3 separate regions of the Homo sapiens genome follow, and all the other regions are linked to region 1. The links are contacts of gene promoters, found by promoter capture Hi-C in blood cells and fetal thymus (Javierre and others, 2016). All regions are on one chromosome and are shown on one strand. The core of a region is centred on a gene start or on the middle of the fragment in contact, and the rest is flanking DNA. Distances in the headings are between cores, read along the strand shown. Region 1 holds the start of MITD1 (microtubule interacting and trafficking domain containing 1). Region 2 overlaps INPP4A (inositol polyphosphate-4-phosphatase type I A). Region 3 overlaps MGAT4A (alpha-1,3-mannosyl-glycoprotein 4-beta-N-acetylglucosaminyltransferase A).

Region 1 (4,101 bases), core at 774-3,273:
TCCTTATCTTTTTCAATTTTTGGGTCAAATCTCACCTTTTCAATGAGGTCAACCCAGATCACATCATTTAACATTTTCACCCATACCCCAACTGTCAACACTCCCAATTCCTCTTCACTGCTTTCTATCGTGCTTATCTTCTAACGTAACTTAATTATCTGTTAGGTTTTGTTGTTTAGTGCATGTACATTCAATAGCACGCTAATTCCATAGGAAAAGGGTTTTTAGATTTTGTTGTTTTGGGTCTGTTATATTCATAGAAGTATCCCAAACATCTGTGTAAAGCGGTATCTGCCCTATAGCAGACATATAATATATTTTTGCAGAATAACTGAAGTTTAAATATTTACAGACTTCTGAAGGTGTGATAGTCAAAAGTTACAAGTTTTTAGAGACAGAGTCTCGCTATGTTTCTGGTATTGAACTCAGCCTCAAGCAATCCTCAATTTTCCCAGTAATTGGAGCTAGGTGTGTGTCACCACGTTTGACTCAAAGAATACGTTTATTTTATCTTATTTATTTTTTTGAGACGGAGTCTCGCTCTGTCGCCCAGGCTGGAGTGCAGTGGCACGATCTGGGTTCACTGCAAGCTCCGCCTCCCGGGTTCACGCCATTCTCCTGCCTCGGCCTCCCCAGTAGCTGGGACTACAGGCGCCCGCCCGGACGCCCGGCTAATTTTTTGTATTTTTAGTAGAGACGGGGTTTCACCGTGTTAGCCAGGATGGTCTCGATCTCCTGACCTCGTGATCCTCCCGCCTCGGCCTCCGAAAGTGCTGAGATTACAGGCGTGAGCCACCACGCCCGGCAAGGAATACGTTTTAATAAAGTAAAAGTTACTGTTAATAATTAGGCACGTAACTCCTGGACCCTGAAACAATTACGCTGTCTTCTGTAAAACAGGAAAATATCAGGCATCACAGGAGAAGTATGATCCCATTTCTATTTTTTTAAATGTCTGTGAACGTGTGTAATCACAGAAAAACTCTGGAAGGTTGTCAGAAAAACGTTAACATACCCCTGGGGGTATGAAAAAAGGCGTTTTTCCTCCCCCTTCTCCCCCCCAGCGACCGATAGTTCTTTTGTCTTTTTACAATGAGCATGCATGCAACAGGAATGTTAAAAATCGATTTCTTTTTCTAAACCGACAATGTATACAATTATTAAAGGGGGAAAAACACTTCTGAAATGCAAAACATGGAATCACTCTTGCAGAGATACCAGAGATCTCTGAAAGCTGGAAGCGTGTCTCTTCTCTGAACTCCTAGTGCCTAACAAGCAGTAGGCAGCCCTCATTACTGCCTCTTGGCAAAAAGGGCAGAACAAACAGCTTTTGGTAGGTCTCGATCAAAATGGTAACAAATCACAGTTTTAATAAAATGGCAAATATTCTAACTGCCAACTCTTGGATGTTTGCATTATAAAATGAAGCAATACAAAGATAAAGGCAATTTTCTGTCTTCATTAAAAAAAAAAAAAAGCAACCTTAATACCCAGTGGCAACCCTAAGTTATGAATAAAGCAGCAGCACAGAAAATGCTGCTTGGGTTCCCTTTCCCAAGCTGTCCAGCCTCGGCGGCTCCGTTCTTGAGCTCCAAGAGTCTGGGCACAAAAAGCCGCGTGGCCCTGGATCCTGCAAATTGGGAAACGGGGGGATCCTGCAGGCCAATGGCCTTACGGGAGCCAATGTGACGGGATCAGGGGCAGACCCATTTAGGTTGCCGTAACCGGCCAATTCAGTACGCAATAGGGAAAATCAATTAGGATCTGCAGAGGGTTCCCGGATACACCTTGCGAAGAATGCCGCACTCTCCGCCACTCATTCCCCACTCACCGGCACCCGCTAAACCTTCAGCCTGAAATTTTCCTCCGAAGGGAAGCAGAGCAGAGGAAGAACTACCAAGTGCTACACTCAAAGCCTGCCGTCGCAGTGAGCGCGACCTCCAAACTGAGGCATTTTTGTTCCGGCGAAATCCCTCCCACTCAGGAAAGTCCCTAGAAAGAGAGCGCAGGCGCCTGGGTATCACATGACCACTTCCCGGAAGCGCAGCAGACCCGCTCAACTTCATCCTGGGTTGAGGCGGAGGAGAACTTCCAGAATTATGGCGAAGTCCGGGCTGAGGCAGGACCCGCAGAGCACAGCTGCAGCCACTGTGCTAAAGCGGGCAGTAGAACTAGATTCGGAGTCGCGGTATCCGCAGGCTCTGGTGTGTTACCAAGAGGGGATTGATCTGCTCCTGCAGGTTCTGAAAGGTGAGCAATGAGCCAAGGCGGGGAGGACCTGAGGAAAAGGAGCTGGTTCCTGCTGTGTCTGGGGTGAAGTGAAAGAGTTAAAAATGATTTTTCCACACCACGAAGAAGCAGTTAAATACAGAAGGTGGGATATTCTATAGGACAACTGGGCCGCTTTCTTTTAGATCTTTAATAGATTGATGTTACCTAGAAAAGGTGGGGAGGCTACTAGTCTAGATTTTAAAAGACTTAAGAGATATAAGATATAACGCAATGTAATATATAAGCTTTGATAGGACCTGGGTTTGTACGAACTTTAAAAGACATTTTTGGATCTATTAGAAAAGTTTGAATATAGATTGGGGGGCATTAAAATTATTTTCTTAGGCAATATGATTTTTTTTCCAAAACTTTCCTTAATTTTTAGAGATGCAGACCAAAGTGTTTTAGAAAGAGATGCTATGATGTCTTTAGTTAATTTTCCTTAAGCAAAAATTTCTTAAAAATCGAAGCTCTATTTGAGCAAAAATGCTAATTTTAAAAATTTCGGTGATGGGTAATAAGGGTGTTTATTATACGATTATTTTTAATTTTCTGTTTAAACATTTGCATTTAAAGCAAGCCAAAGTAAAATTATGTAGCGGTAGAAGAAGAAAAGTTTTTCTTAAACGGATGAGGTTCGGTGTGAGAAATGCGCAGGGTTGTGGAGGAGACAAGTGAGACTTTTCGTATTATTCAATGTTGAGAAATACCCAAATATTCCTTAACACCCAGCACAACCCTGGCTCACAGTAGACACTCAATATTTATGTATTAAATTGATAAGATCAGCTCCTGCTCCCCAACCCCCGACACTCCCGGTCTGGACTAAGCTCCCTCTGTTCTTTCTAGTTTAAGCTTCTTATAATTAAAGTGTTACAGAAGCTTTGGGGCAGCAGAGGGGAGCCCTTTATGGTTTGGTGCTTTGGTCAGAACTACAAACTCTACCGGCCGGGCGCGGTGGCTCACTCCTGTAATCCCAGCACTTTTTTGGGAGGCCGAGGCAGGTGGATCATGAGGTCAAGAGATCGAGACCATCCTGGCCAACATGGTGAAACCCCGTCTCTACTGAAAATACAAAAATTAGCCGGGCATGGTGGCACGCACCTGTAGTCCCAGCCACTTGGGAGGCTGAGGCAGGAGAATTGCTTGAATCCGGGAGGCGGAGGTTGCAGTGAGCCGAGATCGCGCCACTGCACTCCAGTCTGCCAATAGAACAAGACTCCGTCTCAAAAAAAAGAAAAAATAACTGTAAACTCTACCTTGCCTGGGGCATTATTTGATGATAATGATGACAGTGACAACAGCAATAAGCATAGATATCACGTTTCAGTGCTGAGTGCCAGGCATTGCAGAAAACATTAAAAGCATGATCTCGTTTCATCCGTACCAATTGCCCTATCAAGTAGGAGTTGATGGTATTCTCGTTTTACAGCATAAAAAGTATTGTTCGCTTTCAAGTTCTGCCACTAGGAGGTGGTAGAGTCACAGTCGGAGCCCAAGGCCCCAACGACTCTGGTATACTGAATCCCAAAAGAGAGATGGTGTACTGTGTTGGTCAGGTGGAACACTGCTCAAGTTTTGGCTGCACTAGGAATCTGAAGCAGGAGAATCACAGTTCTGCTCTAGGGTGCTTCACTGATCCCGTAGAGGTTACAGAGACAATGATGTCACATAGATGGGTTAAGACCAAAATGCAAATAGCGCTAATACAGGGAATAAGTGCCAGGAGAGAGATATCTATAGATAAACGCAATGAGGATTTAAACAGTTAAAGGTCATGTGAGGGTGGAAAGGTAGAGGTGGAGTTTGATTGGGGCTTTGGAGGAAAAA
Region 2 (3,879 bases), core at 436-2,935, 610 kb after region 1:
ATGGCTGCTGGTGTGGTGAGCACTTAATTTCTTTTACTGCCACCTTCAAAGGACATTTCCTTCATCTCCCTTCAGTTCTTCTGAGGGGCTGGGAATGGCCACCGAATCACCTACAGGACTCCTTGTAAATACCCATGCCTCCCGCACCCCTCCCAGATGAGGGAGTTAGGAGGGAGTGAGAGGGATCCAGCTGGTCGTCAAAACTTCCCGAGGGTAGAAGAAACTGGGGCAGTGGGTCTGAGCCATTGAGCAGGCCTGGAAACCTTGGGAGGGATCAGGAAAGTGCAGCCTCCTCCAGGGGGCCCTTGGCCCATGCCAGGAGAACACATCTCTGCGGGACCCAGAGAAGCCCCTGCTCCCACATCCTAACAGCTCCTCCTCCACTCTGGCAGTCTCTAGGCCCTTCCAGGACCCCTTGGGCCTGAAGATCCATCAGGTCACCTTACCAAGAAACCCCAGACAAAACTGAGGAAAAATCAACCACTCCTGGAAAGGTACTCTGGGATTTTCAAACACTGGGATTATCAGAGACAAAGAGAAGAGCCTCAAGGTCATGGCTAAGGAAAACAGCCACAGCGCCGGAATCCCCGAAGCCAAACCAAGTACATGGCAGCACTTGGGATCTAACTGCACACCTGGTTTCCACCACACAGCCTCGCCCTGGCGTACACAGGTCCTGTGCTAATTACTTCACGTTGCTGCTGAGTGCTCCACACCACGCCGGTCAGGGGACAGGGCAGAGACAGAAAGATGGAAAGGTGGCATCAGCTGAGACGGAAGCTGTGGGAGCCCAGAGGAGGGGAGCTTAGCCAGGTCAGGATATTTGCCCTCTGGCATAGACAGCACCATCTCACCTCCCAAGATGCACTTTGGCTTCTCGCTGGTTGCCCCTGCAGCCCCTGCTTTAATGAATACCTGTCCACTGAGGAACCACACAAAGTTTGGGGGTATTCAGCTGGTGGGCTCCATCTCCTCAGCCTCAGAGACCAGCCATCCTGCTGAGGGGAGGGGTACCTGGCTCACATCTGCCCCAGCTTCCTGGGTCATGGTCCAGTCGACTAGTTCCTGCCTGCGTGGTCCAGCCTGGCTGCTCTGCTTCCGGAGGCCTCGCCCATCCTGGGCCTTCACTGCCCATTGTAACAGCTCCCCGAGCCCTGGAGACTGCCTGCCCTCTAAGGTGCTAGGCACAAATTCCCCCTTCCTACTTACTGCAGCCGCTCACCACTCCCACTCCTCCAGGCCTCAGCACGCGCCCCCTACTCCCTCCCTGCTCACCTTCGTGGCTCCTTGGCTGGCCCTGCCGGTGGGCCCATCCTCTCCCCTACAGCAGTCAGAAGATGCTGCCTGGGCTTGGCCCAGCTCCTGGGGAGACTTGCCCTCCATGCCTCAGTTTCCTCACCTGCCAAGTGGGTGTGAAACCGGTGCCCATTTCCCAGGGCTGCTGTGGGGATCAGATTAGAGAATCCACATAAAGTGGATAGTAGGGGGCCCAGCTTGTGGCGAGCATGTGACAAATCTGCTGTTTGAACTCCGGTCCCTGCTAAAGAGCATGAGGACACCTTCTTAACAGTTCTGACGTCCATGGCACTGATGGCCTTCAGCTGCCAAGTCCTCGCAGGACCTTGACTTCATGCTATGTTTACCACCCTGGCTGTGGCACACAGGGACCACCTGGGGAGTTTCTGAAACCCTAATGCCCAGGTCCTGCCCACCACACTCTGGGGTGGGGCCCAGGCATCTGTATTTTTCCAGGCTCTCTGGCTCCAACTGCATCTCTGCCAGTCACCTCCACTCCCCTCAAGGCCCCGGTTCTGTGCTCACCTCTCTCATGTTGAGCAGGACAAGAACACCTGTTTTACTGGGGAGACTGAGGCTGCCCAACCTGAGCATATTTCCTCCATTCATGTCCCTACCTTCTCTCCTCCCTCCTTCCCTCCCTGCAAGGGCACCCTCCGCCTGCCCACTCCAGGGCCTGGTCTGTGACTCTGGTGTCCTCTTGCATCTTCCAGCCCTGTGTGTTCTCCTTCCCTCGGACCTTTGAGCACTCCCATGGCCCCTGCAGCTCCAGGGTGTGTCCCACCTGCCCACAGCCCCATCCCTCAAGTTGCTGACAGTCTTTGGGACAAAGTGGTCCATTCCAGGGCAGCACCATTTCATCACCCCTTGATCCCTGGCCCAGCCCTCACCACAGTGAGACTGTATGGGAGAGATCACCAGCAGCTCCTTGTCCACACATCCAGTGTCCGGCAGCGCCCCACACCCTCCTGGCTCCTGCCTTCTTCCTGCTAGCCTGTGATGCTCTCTCTCGCCTTCTGTTGAGTCCCTTCTTCCTCGCTGTCCCCCAGAGCAGGGGCCCCTCCAGATGCTGTTCCAGCCCCTTCTCGTCTTGTCACTCAGTGGCCTCAACCACCAAAGGGCTCTGCTCTGTGGCTCCACATCTGCACTCCCCACAAGTCATTTGCCCATGTCATCAGCTCAGCTGGGGCCAGTGCTGCACTCGCTGTCGGTCCCCTGTAGCCCTGCGCCTCTCTCATCAGCGGGACGGCCCCAGCTGTTGCCGGCAACTCCAGCGTCCTTGCCCAGAGCCAGGTCTGTCAGCTCTCCCAGCAGACACAGCCCTCACCTCCCCAGCGCCAGCTGCACGTGGCCGCTGAGGAGTGCATCCTCAGCCCAAACCCCCCTAACGCCTCATCCCTCTCTCCACGCTCACTGTCACTACCAGGCTGGAGTCAGAGTGAAACAACATCTCATCTGAAGTGTCACAGCCTCACTCTGGCCATCAGCGGCTTGCCTCCCCTCTTCCAATCCAACCGCACACTCTTGCTAGATGAACCTGTGAAGAGGCGTCTTTTTTCCCACTGCTTCCCTGCTGAAGCCACGACTTCTTGGCCCAGCCCCGGAGTGTTCTGCATCACTCTCTCCTAGCAGGACGGCTTCAGCCACAATCCAAGCACATGGGCTTCAGAGCCAGGCACCCCTTTCTTCATCTGGACATGGATCCTATCACCGACCCATAGGGCTGTTGTGGATTCAGCGTGGAAACGTATGTAGAGCCCAGCCCAGTGTCTGGCACATCCGTGACCTGTGAAGGTTCACCAGCAGTACTGTTTGACTATCTCTAAACTCTAAGGTCTACCGTACCGTCCAACAGGATGCAGATGAAGCCTGCCCAATGCAAAGCCCAGCCGATGTGGGTTCCCTCTTTGGAAACCCCCATCAGAGGACACTAGTGTAACACAGAGGGGATGATACCTTCTGACGCGTGGCGCCCCCTAGTGGCTGTGGCAGCGCCTGCACAGAGAGGCCGGCACTCTGGGACCAGCTTTCCCTCCAAGGTAGGGTCCACCCCTCATTCGCCATCGGATCCTCTAGCACTTTACACACAGCAGGTCCTCAGGGAATATTCACTGGGTTGAACTCAAGAGGGAATTCTCGTAGACAGTGCTGTGCAGCTCTCGGTTCCTCCCTTAGTTCTGTGGCTGCAGAGCCCTAGCTGCAGCATCTTCACTGCAGGACACGCAGAGAGATTACTGTCACCATCTCCACTGCCTCCAGGAGATGCCGAGATGGGGCCACCTTGCTCCCAAACACCCAGCAATGTTGGCCCCGCATCTTCCTCTCTAAGCACCACAAAGGGAAGTGAGTGGGCCGCTCACCTGGCCGAGGGTGGGTCCTGCCTCTGTGATTCCCCCAAGTCCTACCAGGAGGTGCACAATGCATGCCACCAAACACATCTTGTGTCAGTGACTACGACAGCATGGGAAGGAGCCATGTCACATAGGCTAGTAGAGAATCGACAGCAAAGAGATGAATGAGGGCCACAGCCAAGGGAAGCTTCTCTCTCTCTCTCTGCGTGTGTGTGTTTAGGGAGAAAGGGAA
Region 3 (4,101 bases), core at 1,057-3,556, 520 kb after region 1:
CCACACTTCTTGTATTTTAGTCTCCTCAAAAGATTTAGAGAAAGAATAAATCTTGAGCAAGTTCTTTTTAAATCATGAGGAATAAGACCCTAGAGTAAATATTTTCTTAATTATTGTATAGAATTTCAGAATGGGAAAGGATTTAGGACATGGTCTAGTTCTGGCCCACTAATTCCTAACTTTTTAGAGTTCCCCATGTCTTTTTAAATGAAAATGGTCTTGATGATTTCCTTATTAGAGAAGTAAACAAATGCATACTGTTCAAAACAATTACATAAATATATAATGAAAAATTACCTGTTACTCCTCTACATAAATATAACTATTTCAAATTATATGTTAAGACTTTTTGTTCTGAAATAATTTTAGATTTACAGAAAGTTGCAGAAATTATAGAGGGTATCTCCTTCACTCAGCTTGCTCTGATGTTAACAACATATGTAGCCATATTATAGTTATCAAAACCAGGAAATTAACACTGATATAATACTCAACCAAACTACAGACTTTATTTGAGTTTCCTGTTTTTCCGCCTGGGTTCGCCTTTCTGTTCCAGCATGCACTATGGAACACCACATTGCAGTTAGCGGTTCTCATGCCTTAGCTTCCTCCTGTCCATGTTTGTGTCTTTCATGAACTTGGACATTTTTGATGGGCACTGGTCAGTTATTTTGTAAAATGTCTCAGTTTGGATTTATCTGATATTTTCTCATGATTATATTTTGACTATGCATTTTTGGCAAGAATAATATGACTTGCCTTTTTAAAAAGGATCCTGCTGTCTGCTTTGGTAAGGGCAAAAGAAAGGAGACTACTTAGAAAGCTGTTGCCATAATCGAGGTGAGGCTTGGACTGGGAGACTGTTCATGGAGGTGATCAGAGATGGGTAAATTATGAACATGTTTTTAACTAAATGGGTTCTAATAAAAAATGAGAACCATTGCTATAGCATCAACATGCTATTAAGGACAAAGCTCCAATTAATGAACTTAAAATAGCCCTTTTAATGTTTTCTGTTTAGTTTTGTACATTTGAATAGAAATATGTATCAAATTTAGGCTTAAATGTCAAGTCTTCAGAGAGATTTTCTCTGAATGTAATGTTTAAGTAGGCCATCTCTGTTTTTCCTCTATTATTGCATTCTATTTTTATAACACAATATTCAGTTATATATACACATACATATGTGTACATATTTTTGTTTGTTTGCTTATGAACTGCTTCTCTCACCAGTTTTAAGTTCTACAAACAGAGATCTTCTTTATTTACCAACCTATACTCAGAGCTTGATAATATGGATACAGTGGATCCATGTATGTATCCAGTATGGATACAGTGTATATATCCATCCGTTTCTTTTCTCCACATTCTTCCTAATACTTGTTATCTTTTGTCTTTTTGACAGTTAGCCATCCTGACAGATGTGATGATATCTGATTGTGGTTTTAATTTGCATTTCCCTAATGATTAGCAGTGTTGAGGATTTTTCGTATATCTGTTGGCCATTTGTATGTCATCTTTTGGGAAATGTCTGTTCAGGTCCTTTGCCTATTTTTTCAGTGTTTTTTCTTACTCTTGAGCTGTTTGAGTTCCTTATATATTTTGGATATTAACTGTTTATCAGATGTGCAGCATGCAGATATTTTCTCCTAACCCATAGGTTGTCAGGCATGCTGTTAATTATTTCCTTTGCCATGTAGAAGAGTTTTAGTTAGATGTGATCCTATTTGTCTATTTTTGTTCTTGTTGCCTGAGCTTTTGGGGTCATATCCAAAAAACCATTGCCCAGGCCAATGTCGTGTAGTTTTTCCCTTATGTTTTCTTCTGGTAGTTTTAGAGTCTTCTTTTGTTTTCAATCCATTTTGAGTTTATTTGTATATTTCACGTGAGTTGAAGTTCCACTTTCATTCATCTGTATGTGGATATCCAGTTTTCTCAGCACCATTTACTAAAGAAACTTTTTTCATTGAGTGTTCTTGGCACCTTTGCTGAAAATCAATTGACCATACATACATGAGTTCATTTCTAGGCTCTATATTCTGTTCCATTGGCCAGTGTGTCTGTTTTTTAAAAATCAATACCATACTGTTTACATTATTATAGCTTCATAGTATAGTTTGAAATAATAAAGTGTGTTGCCTCCAGCTTTATTGTTTTTCCTCATGATTACCTTGGCTATTTGTTGTGTGTGTGTGTGTGTGTGTGTGTGTGTGTGTGTGTGTGCGCGTGCGTGTGTGTGTGTGTGTGTGGTTATATATGAATTTTAGGATTTTTTTCCCATTTCTGAGAAAAATGTCATTAAATTTTTTGATAGGGATTACATTGAATCTGTAGATCACTTTGGGTAATATGGACATTTAAATGATATTAATTCTTCCAATCCATGAGCAAAGATATCTATTTATTTGTGTGTTCTTCAAATTATTTCATCAACATTTTATAATTTTTGGTGTCTAGTTCTTTCACTTCCTTGGTTAAATTTTTTCCTAAGTATTTTTTTGGTAGCTATTTTAAATGGGATTGTTCTCTTGATTTCTTTTTCAGATAGTTCATTGTTAGTATGTAGAAATGCTACCGATGTTTGTATATTGTTTTCCAGAAAGCCTGTTATAAAAACTTTTTATAATTTGATGGTTTTGCAATTTCCAGGATTAAGCTATACCTTTTTTGTTTGTTTTTCTCAAGTATTAAGTGCTTTGACAGTCTTTATAACATAGATTATATTTTATATATCATTGAGTCTTTTAACAATTGAGCATTTTTATAAGTTATCGCTGTATTTAAAATTGATAGGTAGGTGTATTAGTCCATTTTTATGCTGCTGATAAAGACATACCCAAGACTGGGTAATTTATAAAGAAAAATGGACTCACAGTTCCACATGGCTGGAAAGGCCTCACAATCATGGCAGAAGGCGAAAGGCATGTCTTACATGGCAACAGACAAGAGAGAAAATGAGAATCAAGTGAAAGGGGGAAACCCCTTATAAAACCATGAGATCTTATAAGCCTTATTCACTATCACAAGAACAGTATGGGGGAAACTGCCCCCATGATTCAGTTATCTCCACAGGGTCCCTCCCAGAACACATGGGAATTATGGGAGCTACAATTCGAGATGAGACTTGGGTGGGGACACGCCAAACCATATCAATAGGGCTCTGGCTGGCTCAAAAATGTGGCTATGGCCCTGTAACCCAGCCTGCCATGTCCCTGGCCTGGTTGTCCCTTGGGCTTCCTGGGGTCCTTGAAGGGGCAAGGATCTGGAGTTAGGAGGAGGATGATGTCTGGACACACACACCGGAGAAATAATGCTCATAATTATTTACATTTGCCCATCACCTGTGCTCCACCCTGTTTGTCAGTCCTTACAGCTAGCCTAGAAAGTGGTTTCACTTTGACCCAATTTCACGGTCTTTGACATAGCATCAGAGACAGACTCCGTTTACCTCTTAGAGGAGAAAAGCTAATGATGTTTATCTCTGTTAGACCCCTGGGAGCCAGAGCCCTGGAACAAGCCAATTCTTACTGTTGAACGTCACCTCTTCCAGGCATCCTCTTCTGATGCTTCTACCCTCCATGCTGGGTTAGATCTGAACTTGGTTGAAAATGTCTGTTTAAAACATGCCTGCCATGCTTAGACTTGTTCACTGCAGTGCAGCCTGGCCTAGAGTAGGCATTCAGTAAATGTTTGTGAAATGTGAATATGTGATTCATTAAATCAATAAAGAAAATAAAGAAAAATTAATAAGAAGTATTAGAATTTTGACTTGTTCATAATTTAAAAATATGCAGATCTGATAAATGTTTATTTCTAACTGATTGAAGTGCTCTTGATTCAGTTCTCAGTGTCAGTGTAATATTAATATGGTGTAATAATAGCAGTTTTTTATTACATAGTTTTATCATTTAATCTCATAATCTGTAAGGTATTTCCTTTTTTTCATAGAATAGGTTGAAACTCAGAGAAATGACTTTAGAGTATGCAGTTCAGTAGCTACAGAGGCAAACCTTGAACCTAGGTTTTATGATTCCAAGTAGAAAAATCTTTCTTCATATCGTGCAGCATCTGTCACTAATGCTATTCACAATAGTTTGGATG

What was found. Contacts are between HindIII fragments. The CHiCAGO score rates a contact against its expected background, and 5 or more counts as called.
Region 2: a fragment that was not itself captured here is called in contact with the fragment with the promoter of MITD1 in region 1 in 1 of 17 cell types (naive CD4 T cells); the score reaches 6.9 in naive CD4 T cells.
Region 3: a fragment that was not itself captured here is called in contact with the fragment with the promoter of MITD1 in region 1 in 6 of 17 cell types (naive CD4 T cells, naive CD8 T cells, fetal thymus and 3 more); the score reaches 6.6 in naive CD4 T cells.

The regions. Positions count from the first base shown.
Region 1 is chr2:99,178,980-99,183,080 of GRCh38, reverse strand. It overlaps MITD1 (microtubule interacting and trafficking domain containing 1), which reads left to right and starts at 2,023. Exons shown (of 7, transcript NM_138798.3): 1 at 2,023-2,250. The coding sequence starts at 2,100. MRPL30 (mitochondrial ribosomal protein L30) reads right to left here and starts at 1,897. Exons shown (of 6, transcript NM_145212.4): 1 at 1,832-1,897. RefSeq lists a silencer at 1,516-1,688 and enhancers at 1,906-1,955, 1,976-2,205, 2,216-2,355. The HindIII fragment of the contact is 16,860 bases long and covers 1-2,518 here.
Region 2 is chr2:98,568,786-98,572,664 of GRCh38, reverse strand. All of the region lies in intron 22 of INPP4A (inositol polyphosphate-4-phosphatase type I A), which reads right to left. Among named protein-coding and RNA genes, the nearest start is that of COA5, 38 kb to the left of the region's middle. The HindIII fragment of the contact is 4,303 bases long and covers 1-3,836 here.
Region 3 is chr2:98,658,541-98,662,641 of GRCh38, reverse strand. The region is part of intron 5 of MGAT4A (alpha-1,3-mannosyl-glycoprotein 4-beta-N-acetylglucosaminyltransferase A); the gene reads left to right. Among named protein-coding and RNA genes, the nearest start is that of UNC50, 52 kb to the right of the region's middle. The HindIII fragment of the contact is 5,183 bases long and covers 1-4,101 here.